2 separate regions of the Homo sapiens genome follow, and region 2 is linked to region 1. The links are contacts of gene promoters, found by promoter capture Hi-C in human tissues and cell types (Jung and others, 2019). All regions are on one chromosome and are shown on one strand. The core of a region is centred on a gene start or on the middle of the fragment in contact, and the rest is flanking DNA. Distances in the headings are between cores, read along the strand shown. Region 1 holds the start of UBE2F-SCLY (UBE2F-SCLY readthrough (NMD candidate)). Region 2 overlaps LOC112268433 (a long non-coding RNA gene).

Region 1 (6,364 bases), core at 1,232-3,731:
CCCACAGAACAGCAAGCACCAGGGCCACATGCAGCTCCCTGAAGGAGGCTCAGGGAAGCCTGGGGAGAGAGATCCTTCATGCACTCAAAGGCCAACCACCAAGAAACTCTTCTGCACCACTACAGCCCGCAGGCTACGCTTAACGCTTTTATACCCCCAATCACGCCACGATGAAGTCTTCTCTGTGGGCAGAAGACGCTCCAACATTCAATTCCACTGAAGAGTCAGATTGCTGGTTTACTATCTTCAAGTCTGTGACTTGCAAGATATAAAAGAATGTAACACTGGTGCTTTGTTTTCCATAGAAAGTAATAAAAAATGTACTTCTCTAACATTCTAAGAAATCTAATATAGTGACCATCTATTTTTCTATCGTGTGTATCATTTTCACACGCCACTTTAAGAATAAACCCAAGGCCTAATTTGGGAATGTTGCCATAGCTGTAAAATTAAATTTAAACCAAAGGATTCTATCAAAAAGTAAGTCTTCAAACTGTCAAGAGGCTAGCTGAATACCTGCAGTTGCTTCAGAATTCTTTTCCTTCTTCAATATGCTTCAACTCTTGAAGATCTGGTTTAAAACAAAACTTCCTCTTTCCTGCAAATTACGCTCTAAGGCAGCATTTCGGTAACAGATCAGCTGTTCTGAACAGCATTCTCAGTTTCTAAATTCCACAAGTTGTAATTGGCCCAGTTAGGTTCCTCCTCTGGGTGGGACCTGCTTTCAGACAGCCCGGAGAAGAGCATCTGGTGTGCAACTTACTAGTGCCATCAAGTGATATTTACTCAGCATCCCTGCAAGCAATGGCAAAACCAGGCCATGTCACTTGTGCAGGGACACCAGGGGCCAGTCAGCTCAAGGTGAGGGGGCTACTTATTTACAATTCCTTCCGAATGGAGACGTCTCAATCCAAGCATAAAGGATGGGACTGCGGGTCACTAGGGGACACTCAACTTCCCCAGCCAAAGGGGCCCCGATCAGGGCACAACAAAGTCCACATCCCACTCTTCTACAGAATGCCAGTGCCCAGGAACCTCCTGCTCGGCACAGGAGTACGCTGGTTGACCGACCATCTTTGGAGCCCAGCCCCTTTTACGTTCAGCAGTAAACCTGCCCCTTCCTGCACTGCCTACTACCTGAAAGGCAGGTATGTCCAGGTGGGGGGTCCTCAAGCCCCACAGCACTAAGCTTGGTGTGATTCTGTCTCTCAATCTCTCTCTCTCTCCCACCTCTATGCTCCCCCTTGCCTTCATCTCACTCCTCAGCCAGGATTCCTCTGCACCAGGCAGGCCAGTTTCCTCTTTGTTCCTTCACAACACCCTGTTCATTTCCAGAAGCTTCTATTCAGTCTGATACCCAGGTCTAGAATGCCCTCCTTCCCTTCACAAACGAATCCTACCCCTTCCTTAAGGGGAAGATTCCTACCTACATCCCAACATCTCCTCCTCCAAGAAGCTTTCTCTGGCTATTCCAACCCATCCTGCCCCCACTTCCAGGCGGTCGGGAATGCAGAGTGGGGGGACCCAATTCTCTCCTGTGACAGATGAGGAAACTGAGCCCAGGGAGGGGAAGGCCACACCCAAGATGACACACCAGCAGAACTAGGTCTGGAACCAAGACTCTGCTGCACTAATTGTTCCAAGATGCCCTTCCTTCCTCGTCTCCTTTGCTGTGGTAAAAATTTTCCAAACTAGCCTGGCCGCCCCCAGTTGTAGGTAAGCGTCCATACTTACTCTTCCCGCTGCAGGTACGAGGACCGGGCGCGAGTTGTCACTCCCCTCACCTCCCCCGCTCCTCACGGCCTAGCGCGACTCCTGCCCCGATCGGGAGTCCAGTCCCGGTTTCTGCGGCCACGTCGGGCCGGTGACCTTGGCCAGGCGCTGGACGCCCCGCTTCCTCCGTACAAGGCAGGCAGCCGATCCCGCGAGTGGGGCGTGAGCGCGGCCAGGTCTGTGCCACGCTCGGCCCAGGGCCTGGTTCACACCAGGTGCTCGGCGCGGGCCGTCCCCCGCCGCCGCCGCCGCGGTCACTCACTGCCGGGCGAGGCCAGCGCCCCGGCCGCCGACGCCGCCTCCGACCCCCGGCTCGCGGCCCGCGGCCCGCGGCCCCTTCCCATTCACGCCGCTCGGCCTCGCGTCCGGGTGCCCGCGCCCGCCAGGCCCCCGGCGTGAGGAACCCGGCGGGCCCGAGGCGGCCCCGCCACCGCCCGCGCCCTCCGCCCGGCCCGCAGGCCAGCCCGTGCACCGGCGGCCGCACCTCGCCCCGCCGCAGAGCCGCACGGTCGCTCCTCACCTGGGCTCCCCGAGACAGGCGAGGCGGGCCCGGCGCCCAACACCATGCCCGGTCCGGGCGGCTGCTGCGAGACGCGGCCCCTCACAGCCGCACCGGCTCCCGGCGGCGGGACCGGAAGTGGCGGGGCGGGGACTCGGCCGCTCTCGCCCGCGGCAGCCGAGACAGCAGCGGGCGCTTTAAAAAAAAAATTCAAAGTCGCGAAAAACTTTATTTGGAACCAGACACGCGAACAGCGGCGTGCGCCGATCGGGACTGGGCTGGGCGACGGGCCTCTCGGACCTCGCTCATTGGCAGAGGGCGCGGCCAGGGGGCGGGCACGGATTTCGCAACCGCCGCTGATTGGCGAGTAGCGTTAGGGGCGGGGATTCCGAGTTGGCTCTGGAGCCCGAGCGCCGGAGGGCTGGGGGTTTTGCACCTGGTTCCAACACGGGTTCACTTCGTGGTCTGCAGGGTTTAGGGGCACGGAGGAGCCCGGGCTATCCTTCCCTGAAGGAGCGGCCTCCGTGGCTGGAGCTCCCGCTGTCCAGCGCCGCACCTGGAGTGCAAAGGACTGGACAGGCCCCCGCAGCCTGCAGTGCAGGCGGTGAGGGAGACCGGGCGGTCAGACACGCAAGCCACGACCAACCCCAAACCGTGTGCTGCGCCCACAGGCCCCACTGTTCTTGTCATGTCCCTTTTATTCCTTCTTTTCTCTCTTAAATGTGTTTAAAGTACCTTAAAAATCCATTTCAACTTGTCCTCTTTTGGGCGCCCAGATTCATCCCGCGCCCATTAGCGTCCTGTGTGATTGACGAGGGGCCGTCCTGGGCGTCAGGCAGGCCCCTGGAGGAGTGGGCCATTAGAAAGATGAGGTTCAGCATGGAAACGGTCAGAAAGAGACAAGGAGTTAGACTTTCATTTCGAAAAACCCCACTGAGAGGTTTCTAACAGTGGAGTGACTATCAGGTTTTCTTCCTAAAGGAGGCTGGCGGGCCCGGTGGCTCACGCCTGTAATCCTAGCACTTTGGGAGGCCAAAGTGGGAGGATCCCATGAGCCCAAGAGTTTAAGACCAGCCTCCTGATGGTGGCAAGACCCCATCGCTACAAAAAAAGAAAAAAAAAATTAGCCGCGTGGTGGCGCGCGCCTGTAGTCCCAGCTACTCAGGAGGCTGGGATGGGAGGATCACCTGAGCCCAGGAGGTTGAGGCTGCAGTGAGCCGTGATCGCACCACTGCACTCCAGCTTGGGTGACAGGGCAGACCCTGTCCCCATAATAATAATAAAGGCTTTGGCTCTAAGTGAGTCGGTGGGAATGGAGTCAGGAAAACTGGTCAAGAACACAACTCAGCCGGGCGCAGTGGCTCAGGCCTGTAATCCCAGCACTTTGGGAGGCCGAGGCAGACAGATCACCTGAGGTCAGGAGTTCAAGACCAGCCTGGCCAACATGGCAAAACCCCATCTCTACTAAAAATACAAAAAAGCCGGGCGTGGTGGTGCGCCCTTGTAATCCCAGCTATTTGGAACGCTGAGGCAGGAGAATTGCTTGAACCCAGGAGGCGGAGGTTGCAGTGAGCTGACACTGCACTCCAGTCTGGGTGACACAGCAAGACTGTTTCCAGAAAAAAAAGAAAAAAGAAAGAACACAACTTGTGTTATTTCTTGTGTTTGGGACCATGTCTCTCCCTTTTTTGCCCGGCTAACTCTCAAGTTTTCCTAAGCTAAGACACCAACTTCTGATAGGCCTCAAAGCCTGGGGGTGGGGTGGGGCAGTGCAGGTGCCCTCTGTGTCTTCCTTGGAGCCCTGCACTTCCCTCTTCCTTATTGTCATGGCCTGTTTCCCTGACTAAGCTCAGCTCCTCAGCCCTCCTCTTCCTTCTTCCTCCAGCGTCACCTCCTGCCACCCCCTTTCCCATCCTGGAACATGCAGGTGATTAAAACACATCTGCTGGATAGAGATTGCATGCGCTGGCGGCATGAGTCCTGGTGAGAGGAGATAAGGGCTTGAAGATTGCAGTGTGTGAAGGTGCAGCCGGAATGGCGTGAGCACTTGTCTTACTCATAAGCGTCACTGTCTGCAGAATGGATTGCACCACACATTGGCCCACGTAGGCCCAAATTCCACCGCTGTGGATGAATGAAGTCATTTCTAGCTCCATTTCATGAGGCTGCCTAATTCTTTCACTAAGACTTATTTAGGACTTCCTAGTTTATTAACTCAATTAATCCAAACAATAACCCCATGAAACAGGTATTATCCCCATTTTATAGATGAGGAAACTGACACAGAAGTTAAGTAGTCTGTTGGCAAAAAAGGTCAAACTGTAAAATATTTGAAGAGATTTTATTCAGAGCCAAATATGAGTGACGAAGGCCTGAGTCACAGCCTCAAGAGGTCCTGAGAACATGTGCCAAGGTGGTTGGATTACAGCTCGATTTTTATAAATTTTAGGGGTGTCAGAGGCGTTTGAACCAGAGCAACTCCATCTTGAGGCTAAGACCTACTGGGCTACATTCCCAGGAGGTTAGGCATTCTAAGTCACAGGATGACATAGAAGGTTGGCACAGGTACAGGTCACAAAGAGCTTGCCGTTAAAAGGATGCCATTAAGAAGCCGGCCAAAACCAAGATAGCGACGAAAGTGTTCTCTGTTCATCCTCACTGTTCATTACGCACTAGTTATAATGTATCTGTTGCTAAAAGACACTCTCACCAGTGCCATGACAGTTTACAAATGTCATGGCAAAGACAGCAAGTTATCCTATGTGATCTAAAAATGGGAGGACCCCTCAGTTCCAGGAATTGCCCAGCCTTTTCCTGGAAAACTCACGAATAATCAACCCCTTGTTTAGCATATAATCAGGAAATGACCATAAAAGTGGCCAACCAGCAGCCCTTGGGGCTGCTCTGCCTACGTAGTAGCCATTCTTTTATTTCCTTACTTCTCTAATATACTTGCTTCACTTTACTCTAATGGATTCCTCTTGAATTCTTTCTTGTTTGAGATCCAATAACCCTCTCTTGGGGTCTGGATCAGGACCCCTTTTTGGTAACAGGGGGACAGAAGTTACAGGCAGACACCAATCAATACATGTACATTAGTTCAGTCTGGAAAGGCAGGATAACTGGAAGCAGGGAAGGGTAGGCAGGAGCTTCTGGATCATAGGTAGATTCAAAGATTTTCTGATTGGCAATTTGGTTGAAATAGTTATTGTCTAACGAACTGGAATGAATAGAAAGGAGTGTCTGGGATAAGATAAGGTGTTGTATAGACAAATGTTCTTATGTAGATGAAGCCTCCTGGTAGCAGGCTTCAGAGAAATAGATGGTAAGTATTTCTTATCAGACCTAAAAAGATGCCAGACTCTTGGTTAATCTCTCCTGGATCAGAAAAAGATCTGGAAAGGGAAATCTACAGAACGTAGATTTTCCCCACAAGAGACAGCTTTGCAAGGCCATTTCAAAATATGTCAAAGAAGGCTGGGCACGGTGGCTCATGCCTGTAATCTCAGCACTTTGGGATCACGAGGTCAGGAGTTCGAGACCAGCCTCACCAACATGGTGAAACCCCATCTCTACTAAAATACAAAAATTAGCCAGGTGTGGTGGCAGGCGCCTGTAATCTCAGCTACTCAGTAGGCTGAGGCAGGAGAATCACTTGAACCCGGGAGGCTGAGGTTGCAGTGAACCAAGATTGCTCCATTGCAATCCAGCCTGGGTGACAGAGCAAGACTCTGTCACAAAAAAAAAAAAAAAAAAACTCAAAGAAATATATTTTGGGGTGAAATATTTCTCTTTCTTTCAGGGCCCACCGTCATGTGATGCTATACTAGAGTCAGTTGGAATTTGGCATCTTATTAGTACAAACAGCCTGTTTTGTCAGTCTTATGATCTCTGTTTTAATGTTAATGCTGGTGAGCTGTGCTTGAATGCCAAAGTGAGGAGGGTATAATGCAGCATGTCTGACCCCTCCTTCCCATCATGGCCTGAACTAATTTTTTAGGTTTCTTCAGAATCCCCTTGTTCAAGAGGAGGGGTCCATTCTGTCGATTAGGGGGCTTAGAATTTTATTTTTGGTTTACATGTCCAACATGG
Region 2 (6,364 bases), core at 1,904-4,403, 330 kb before region 1:
CGAACACTATCTGGAGGTTTATAAAATGTTTGATCGATGGATATAGAATACCACATAACATTGCTTTGGACCAAAAAGACTCACTTTACAGCAAAGGATCTATGGTGTTGGGTACATGACCGTGGGCTCCACTGGGCCCATTCCTTACCATGCCGTTCAGATGCTGCCAATCTGGGTGAGTGATGGAGTGGTCCTCTTGTTAGCTCTGCTGAGGAGAAAATACCCTTTGAGGATGGGATTCCATCCTTTAAGACACAAAATATACCCTAAATCAGTGACCATCATAAATTGCTGTCTCCAGCTGATGAAAGGCATGGGTCTGGGAACCCAGGAGCAGAAGCAGGAACAGCCCCCAACCATGACCTCCAGGGATCCAGTTGGTGAATTTGAACTTCTCGTCCCCTCCATGTTGTGCTTTGCAGGTCTAGAGGCCTGTTCTCTAGAGGGGGAACACTGCCACCAGGGGATCCAGTGGACAATAAGCGATGGCTGTCACTGGTCACTCAGGCTCTGTGCCAAAAGACGAGCAAGCAAGGAAAGGAGTCGGTGTCCCAGCAGGGGTGACTGGCTCTGATCCTCAAGAGCAGGAAGGGCTGCTGGAACCGGGGTGGAGGAGAATCACCCTGGCACACAGCTGGCTTCTGGGGCATCACTTGGCACGCTCCTGCCCAGTTTTGGTGGGAAATGGACAAGCACAGCAGTTGCAGCCTGAAGAGCGTGTAGTGGCTGGGATGAGGGTTTGTGTCCTCCTGCCAGGTGGGTGCCCAAGCGCAGCAGAGGTGCTAGCAGAGGAAGTGGGGAATCCAGACTGAGCAGTAGATGACAAAAATCAGCTATGGTCATCCCACTAGCCTTCCTCCTACCTAACCCAGCAAAGAGACAAACCAGAGTCAGTCCTGGGAGGGGACGCTTCAGATGGGGTCCTGGAAATTTTCCAGGAAGAAAGGACGGGGGAGTTCACTGGAGAGCCATGGCCGAGCTTCCTTCCCACCTGCTAAGACTTCACCACTTCTCTAAAACACAAACCCGGCTCAACTGGTCGCCTATACAAACCTAACAAAGGCTTCGTCGGCTGCAAAAATATTGTTGCTGAAAATGGGTCAGTCTTTTGATGCCAGTGAAAGACGCTGGTCCCTGCTGATAGCACACACACACACACACACACACACACACACACACACCCCCCACACTGGGCCATGCAGCTGTTGGTACAGAGCTGCCAGGGCTAGAAACGGCTTTTCTGGGTGTCATAGGCCTTGGCCTCCCCTCCAATGCCCTGGAGGGGCAATTCCCAGTAGGAGAAGCTCCGCCCACAGGTCTGCAGGGAGCCCTCCTCAGATGAGGCAGCAAACGCCACTGCACTCTGTTGGCCGACATAAGATGTCCTAAAGGAAAGTCATCTCTGGAGTTAGATAAATATGGCCTGAAACCTTTATGTCCTGAATATTGGGGAGAGGGAGGAGAAATGGGGAGAAAAGAGTAAAAACAACCATGAGAAGCCTTGGACAGGATCAGGTGAAGTGCATCCTTGGGAGAAGGGGGAAATGATTCTTACTTTGAGTGAGTTCCGAACTGCCTTGGGGAGAAGCCCTAAACCTGTAGCCCAAGATGACAAGAACTTAATTCCTAGAAATAAAAAAGCCTCCACTATCCCTGTCATGGGATGCCATCAAAAGTTGCCTGGGAGGGACAGTTGTGTGATGAGTTTTGAGTTTTCGAGAACTCAGGAGTCCTGAGCGGGCGCATGGAGACGACAAAGAAGAATGGGAGCTGGAAAACCGGAGTGGGAGGCACCATGAGACCCAAGTCGCTGGTCTCAGGTGCTAGCAGGAAGTGAATGCTGGGGACGCAGGAAGTGAACGCTGGGGACAGGGGACGTCGTTTCTCATCCCATGAGGGCCAGGACTCTAATGAGTCCAGCACAGATGGACGTCCTGGTGGCAGGACTCAGTGTCTGCACCGGGTGACACACAGGGCCCAGCCTCATCTTCATCAATAGGAAAACATGAGCTCTGGTAGGGCAGCCCCACATTCAAACCTGGGCGCCTCTGGGCATCAGAGGAGGAAGGGCCCAAACCACCTGAACAAGTGCTTGCCCCAAAGGGCACAGTGACCTGGCTGGGGGCGACATCCAGAGTCCTGAGCAGGAGCAGGGACCCCTCCACCCCTCCACACACTGCCCCAACGGTTCTGGGAAGACCCTCACCGCCACATCTCAGAGATACATGGCCTTTAAGCAGACACTCCTAGAAAGTTGTTGTGACCGGGTGCAGTGGCTCACGCCTGTAATCCCAGCACTTTGGGAGGCCGAGGTGGGCAGGTCAAGAGATCAAGACCATCCTGGCCAACATAGTGAAACCCCGTCTCTACTAAAACTACAAAAATTAGCTGGATGTGCTGGCACACACCTGTAGTCCCAGCTATTTGAGAGGCTGAGGCAGGAGAATCACTTGAACCCGGGAGGTGGAGGTTGCAGTGAGCTGAGATCATGCCACTGCACTCCAACCTGGCAGCAGAGCAAGACTCCATCTCAAAAAAAAAAAAAAAAAGTTGTTGTTGTTATTGTTTTTAATCCAAGTGAGAAAGAACACGGGAGTCCACCTGAGCAAAGCAGGAAGACCATGTGGAGAGCTGAGAAAACAAGCAAGGAAGACACATTCCTCCTTCCACCCCAATGGAAATAGACACTTTTACATTTCCCCTTCTGGGGCTTTCCATTGGCACATTCTTTCCTATGGCTGTCAGAATAGGATATTGGCCGAGAAAAGCACATGTTTTGCTTTGTCTTTTAGCAACATTGCCACCTCTGCCTTCTTTTGCTTCACAGATATGCCCATGCCCATTATTTTATGTTTTACTTTTCTGTAGCATTTTTGTGCCGATTTGACTGAAAAGCCCTCAAATATTGAATATCTTCAATCCCATCTGAGTGCTCACAGCTCCTATGTTAGCTATTTGTTGCCCTCACAGTCATTCCTGGTCTGTATCTGTTGAATTGCTTTCTGTGGTTTATTTGTTTTCATCATCTGAATTTTGCTCTATAGACTACTTTATTTGTTTATAATCTCTACAGAGGTTTGGATGATAAACATAAGCTTGGTAAACCTCCAGCAACAGTTGTTCAAAATAGCATGAAACTCATATCTAATTACTGAAGACAAAGATTGGAAATGAATAGAAGTCAAATAAAAATAACTTCACAATACAAAAAATTTAATGCTTTTGCTTTTTACTATGCAGGTTCTCCATCTCTATTAACAAAGCAAGCCATTTTAAGCCAAATATCCTGCTCAAAATAGGTTTCTTATTTTATATTTAATAGTCTATAGCATTACTATATTTATGCTTTCTAATTATCAAATGCTTATAATAAAGTATATTACATATAATTTATAATTTATGTAAATTATTGTAAATGCTTATTATAGAATATGAAGGATACTGAAATATATAAAGAGGAAAACTAATGTCACCCATATTCTACCACCCAGAGGAAAGCACTATGAAAATTTGGGCATTCCTTCAGGTTTTTCTTCCAGATATACACTGACATGAAGGCACACCCCTAAAAACCTATCTGTTAATTCATACACCTCCTCTATAAGGTAAGTTCATTTTTTTTTAAGACAGAGTTTCACTGTTATTGCCCAAGCTGCAGTGCAATGGCGCGACCTTGGCTCACTGCAACCTCCGCCTCCCGAGTTCAAGTGATTCTCCTGCCTCAGCCTCCCAAGTAGCTGGGATTACAGGTGTGCACCACCACGCCCGGCTAATTTTTTGTATTTTTAGTAGACATGGTGTTTCACCATGTTAGCCAGGCTATTCTCGAACTCCTGACCCCAGGTGACCCGCCCACCTCAGCCTCTGAAAGTGCTGGGATTACAGGCGTGAGCCACCGTGCCTGGCTGGTAAGTTCATATTTTTCAAACCAAATTGCAAATCTTGGTTTCTCAGGCCAACATGAGGCACAAAGATCAGCAGGGTCTCATGCCCACCAAGTCCATGGCTGACAACGCTCACCCTTCCTGCATCCAGGAAACAATTGGGAACACTGCAAACTCTTCCCAGATTTCCTGGGACCTCCTCTTGGCCTTTGACCTCAAGAGTTGGAATAAGTTGGGGACTAAAATGCTGAGGTCAGCCCGGACTTCTGGCTCTCCTCACTCAGACAGAACCTGCATCTTCCACTGGAACCCTAATGATTTACATCAATATGTGGGAGAGCTACGCTGCCCTACCCAGGCCCTCACTCAGCAGACAACAGCCTCCTTTGTATTGATGGTAGATTTTAAGGCCACGAAGAGGAGGAGTGGCTTAACACAGAAAGGCCAGTCCCTACCACAAACAATGTCTCAATGGCAATGATTACAAATCCAAAATTATCATTTTTGCGGCTGGCTTCCAACATGAACTGACTTATAGCAAAAGGAGTTTATAAGAAGCCTTAATAACCTTGAGAAATATCTTACAATGGACACTTTATTGAGATTTGGTAAGAACAGCCCCTTTTAAAATCCTCTAACAAAGAGTTTAGAAAAATAGTCTTCTAGATGTCGAACTTTGGGAGCTCCATTTCTCCTTGTAACTGGGCAGATCAAAACTCTATTTTCTAAGGAATCGCTTAGGTTGGCCACGTTGGCCTGAACCCAGGGCAAGCAGGGCAGGCTTCTTCCCTCCATGCATGTGGCCCTACATGCATCACCACTTTCACTGGGGGTCATGGTGGGAGCTTGAAATTGGCCATGTGGGCGTATCTGTGTCACAGAAATAGATAAATGCTACATATTTTTTCTTTCTTTTTTTTTATTTTTCCAGAGAGCCAACTGTTACACATTAACTAGCACACCACTGGAGTCAGCCCAACAAATGATTGGAATCAGTTCCTGGTGTCCTTGCCAAAGCATCGAGTTTTAAATCACAGATGACTGCCCCTGTGCCAACGAATTCTTCTCCAGCCACCCATCTAGCGTTATGCTCCTTCGCCACCACACTGCGAAGAACCAGCGTCACCTGTGTTCCTTCAGCTCCTGCTGGCACACATTAGCTTTGCAATTCCTTTGGAGAACAGGACAGTTCTGACCAGAGCTGAGCATATGCCTCTCTGCTCTAGCTACGGTGAAGCCTGCCCCTGGATGTTGGCATCAAGGAGCAGTGGTGAGGGCAGGTCTTGAGAACAAACACCTTGCAGGACACCTACCACAGGTAAGGTATTCCGTAAGAACAACCTGTTCTCCGGCAAGGAGGAAGTATTTGCTTCTGTTGGCTTGGAGGCTTCTGAGAATTTGGGGGTTTGAGATTCTCAGCTTATCTACTCAATTGTCCATAGCCATGGTCTCAGGACCATTCACTATCTGGCTCCTGACTGATGCAGCAGGCCTGTCAAGGCTGTGACTTTAGTCTCGTTTGTAGCCTTCAACCCTTATCAAATTTGAGGTCTTCTTTTCTTTTTTTTCTTTTTTTTTGAGACGGAGTCTCACTTTGTTGCCCAGGCTGGAGTGCAGTGGCGTGATCTCGACTCACTGCAACCTCCGCCCCCTGGGTTCAAGCGATTCTCCTGCCTCAGCGTCCCGAGTAGCTGGGATTACAAGCACGCACTACCACGCCTGGCTAGCTTTTGTATTTTTAGTAGAGAGGGGGATTTTGCCCATGTTAGCCAGGCTGGTCTCGAACTCCTGACCTCAAGTGATCTGCCCCCATCGGCCTCCCAAAGTGCTGGGATTACAGATGTGAGCCACTGCGCCCAGCCTCGAGGTCTGATTTTCTTTTTTCTTTTTGGCTCACTGCAACCTCTGCCTCCCGCGTTCAAGCGATTCTCCTGCCTCAGCCTCCCGAGTAGCTGGGATTATAGGCGCACGCTGCCACGGCCGGCTAATTTTTGTATTTTTAGTAGAGATGGCTAATTTTTAATTTTCACTATGTTGGCCAGGCTGGTCTCGAACTCCTGACCTCAGGTAATCCCTCTGCCTTGGCCTCCCAAAGTGCTGGGATTACAGGCGTGAGCCACTGTGCCTGGCCGATTTGCAACAGTGATTTCTCCTACCCAGTGGCTGTAGGAGATGTAAATCTCCTGAGCTGCCAGTGAGGCCCTTGGGCATTCAAAGTTTGTCTTAGGTTGGCAAGGAACTCTCCCAAGCCCACCGTTTCCTTTCTTCTGAGTGTTCAGCTCCAACATAAGAAGGCACCACCCTTCTGCATAATCATGATCATTATCATTGTCTCCCACTCAGGAAGCACCACCCAATGCCTTGCTCTCTGGCTGCACCCATCATAACTGACCACAGGTGAAAACTCCAGTAATCATAACGCCACTGTGTGATGAACGGTCACCAGCGGTCAGCAAACTTTTTCTGTAAAAGGACAGATA

Evidence for each region. The method cuts DNA at HindIII sites, captures the fragments that hold promoters and counts their contacts. A contact is called where the count stands out against the background at its distance.
Region 2: a contact is called between a fragment that was not itself captured here and the fragment with the promoter of UBE2F-SCLY in region 1, in 1 of the 25 tissues and cell types used here (hippocampus).

What each region holds. Positions count from the first base shown.
Region 1 is chr2:237,963,062-237,969,425 of GRCh38, reverse strand. UBE2F-SCLY (UBE2F-SCLY readthrough (NMD candidate)) reads right to left here and starts at 2,481. Exons shown (of 19, transcript NR_037904.1): 1 at 2,294-2,481. It overlaps UBE2F (ubiquitin conjugating enzyme E2 F (putative)), which reads right to left and starts at 2,412. Exons shown (of 10, transcript NM_080678.3): 1 at 2,294-2,412. RefSeq lists a silencer at 2,189-2,368 and cis regulatory regions at 3,885-4,548, 4,875-5,278. The HindIII fragment of the contact is 7,997 bases long and covers 1-6,364 here.
Region 2 is chr2:238,298,640-238,305,003 of GRCh38, reverse strand. LOC112268433 (a long non-coding RNA gene) reads right to left here. Exons shown (of 3, transcript XR_002959458.2): 3 at 6,258-6,347. It also overlaps a transcript of PER2 not described here. Among named protein-coding and RNA genes, the nearest start is that of PER2, 13 kb to the right of the region's middle. RefSeq lists a silencer at 5,249-5,449. The HindIII fragment of the contact is 7,342 bases long and covers 1-6,364 here.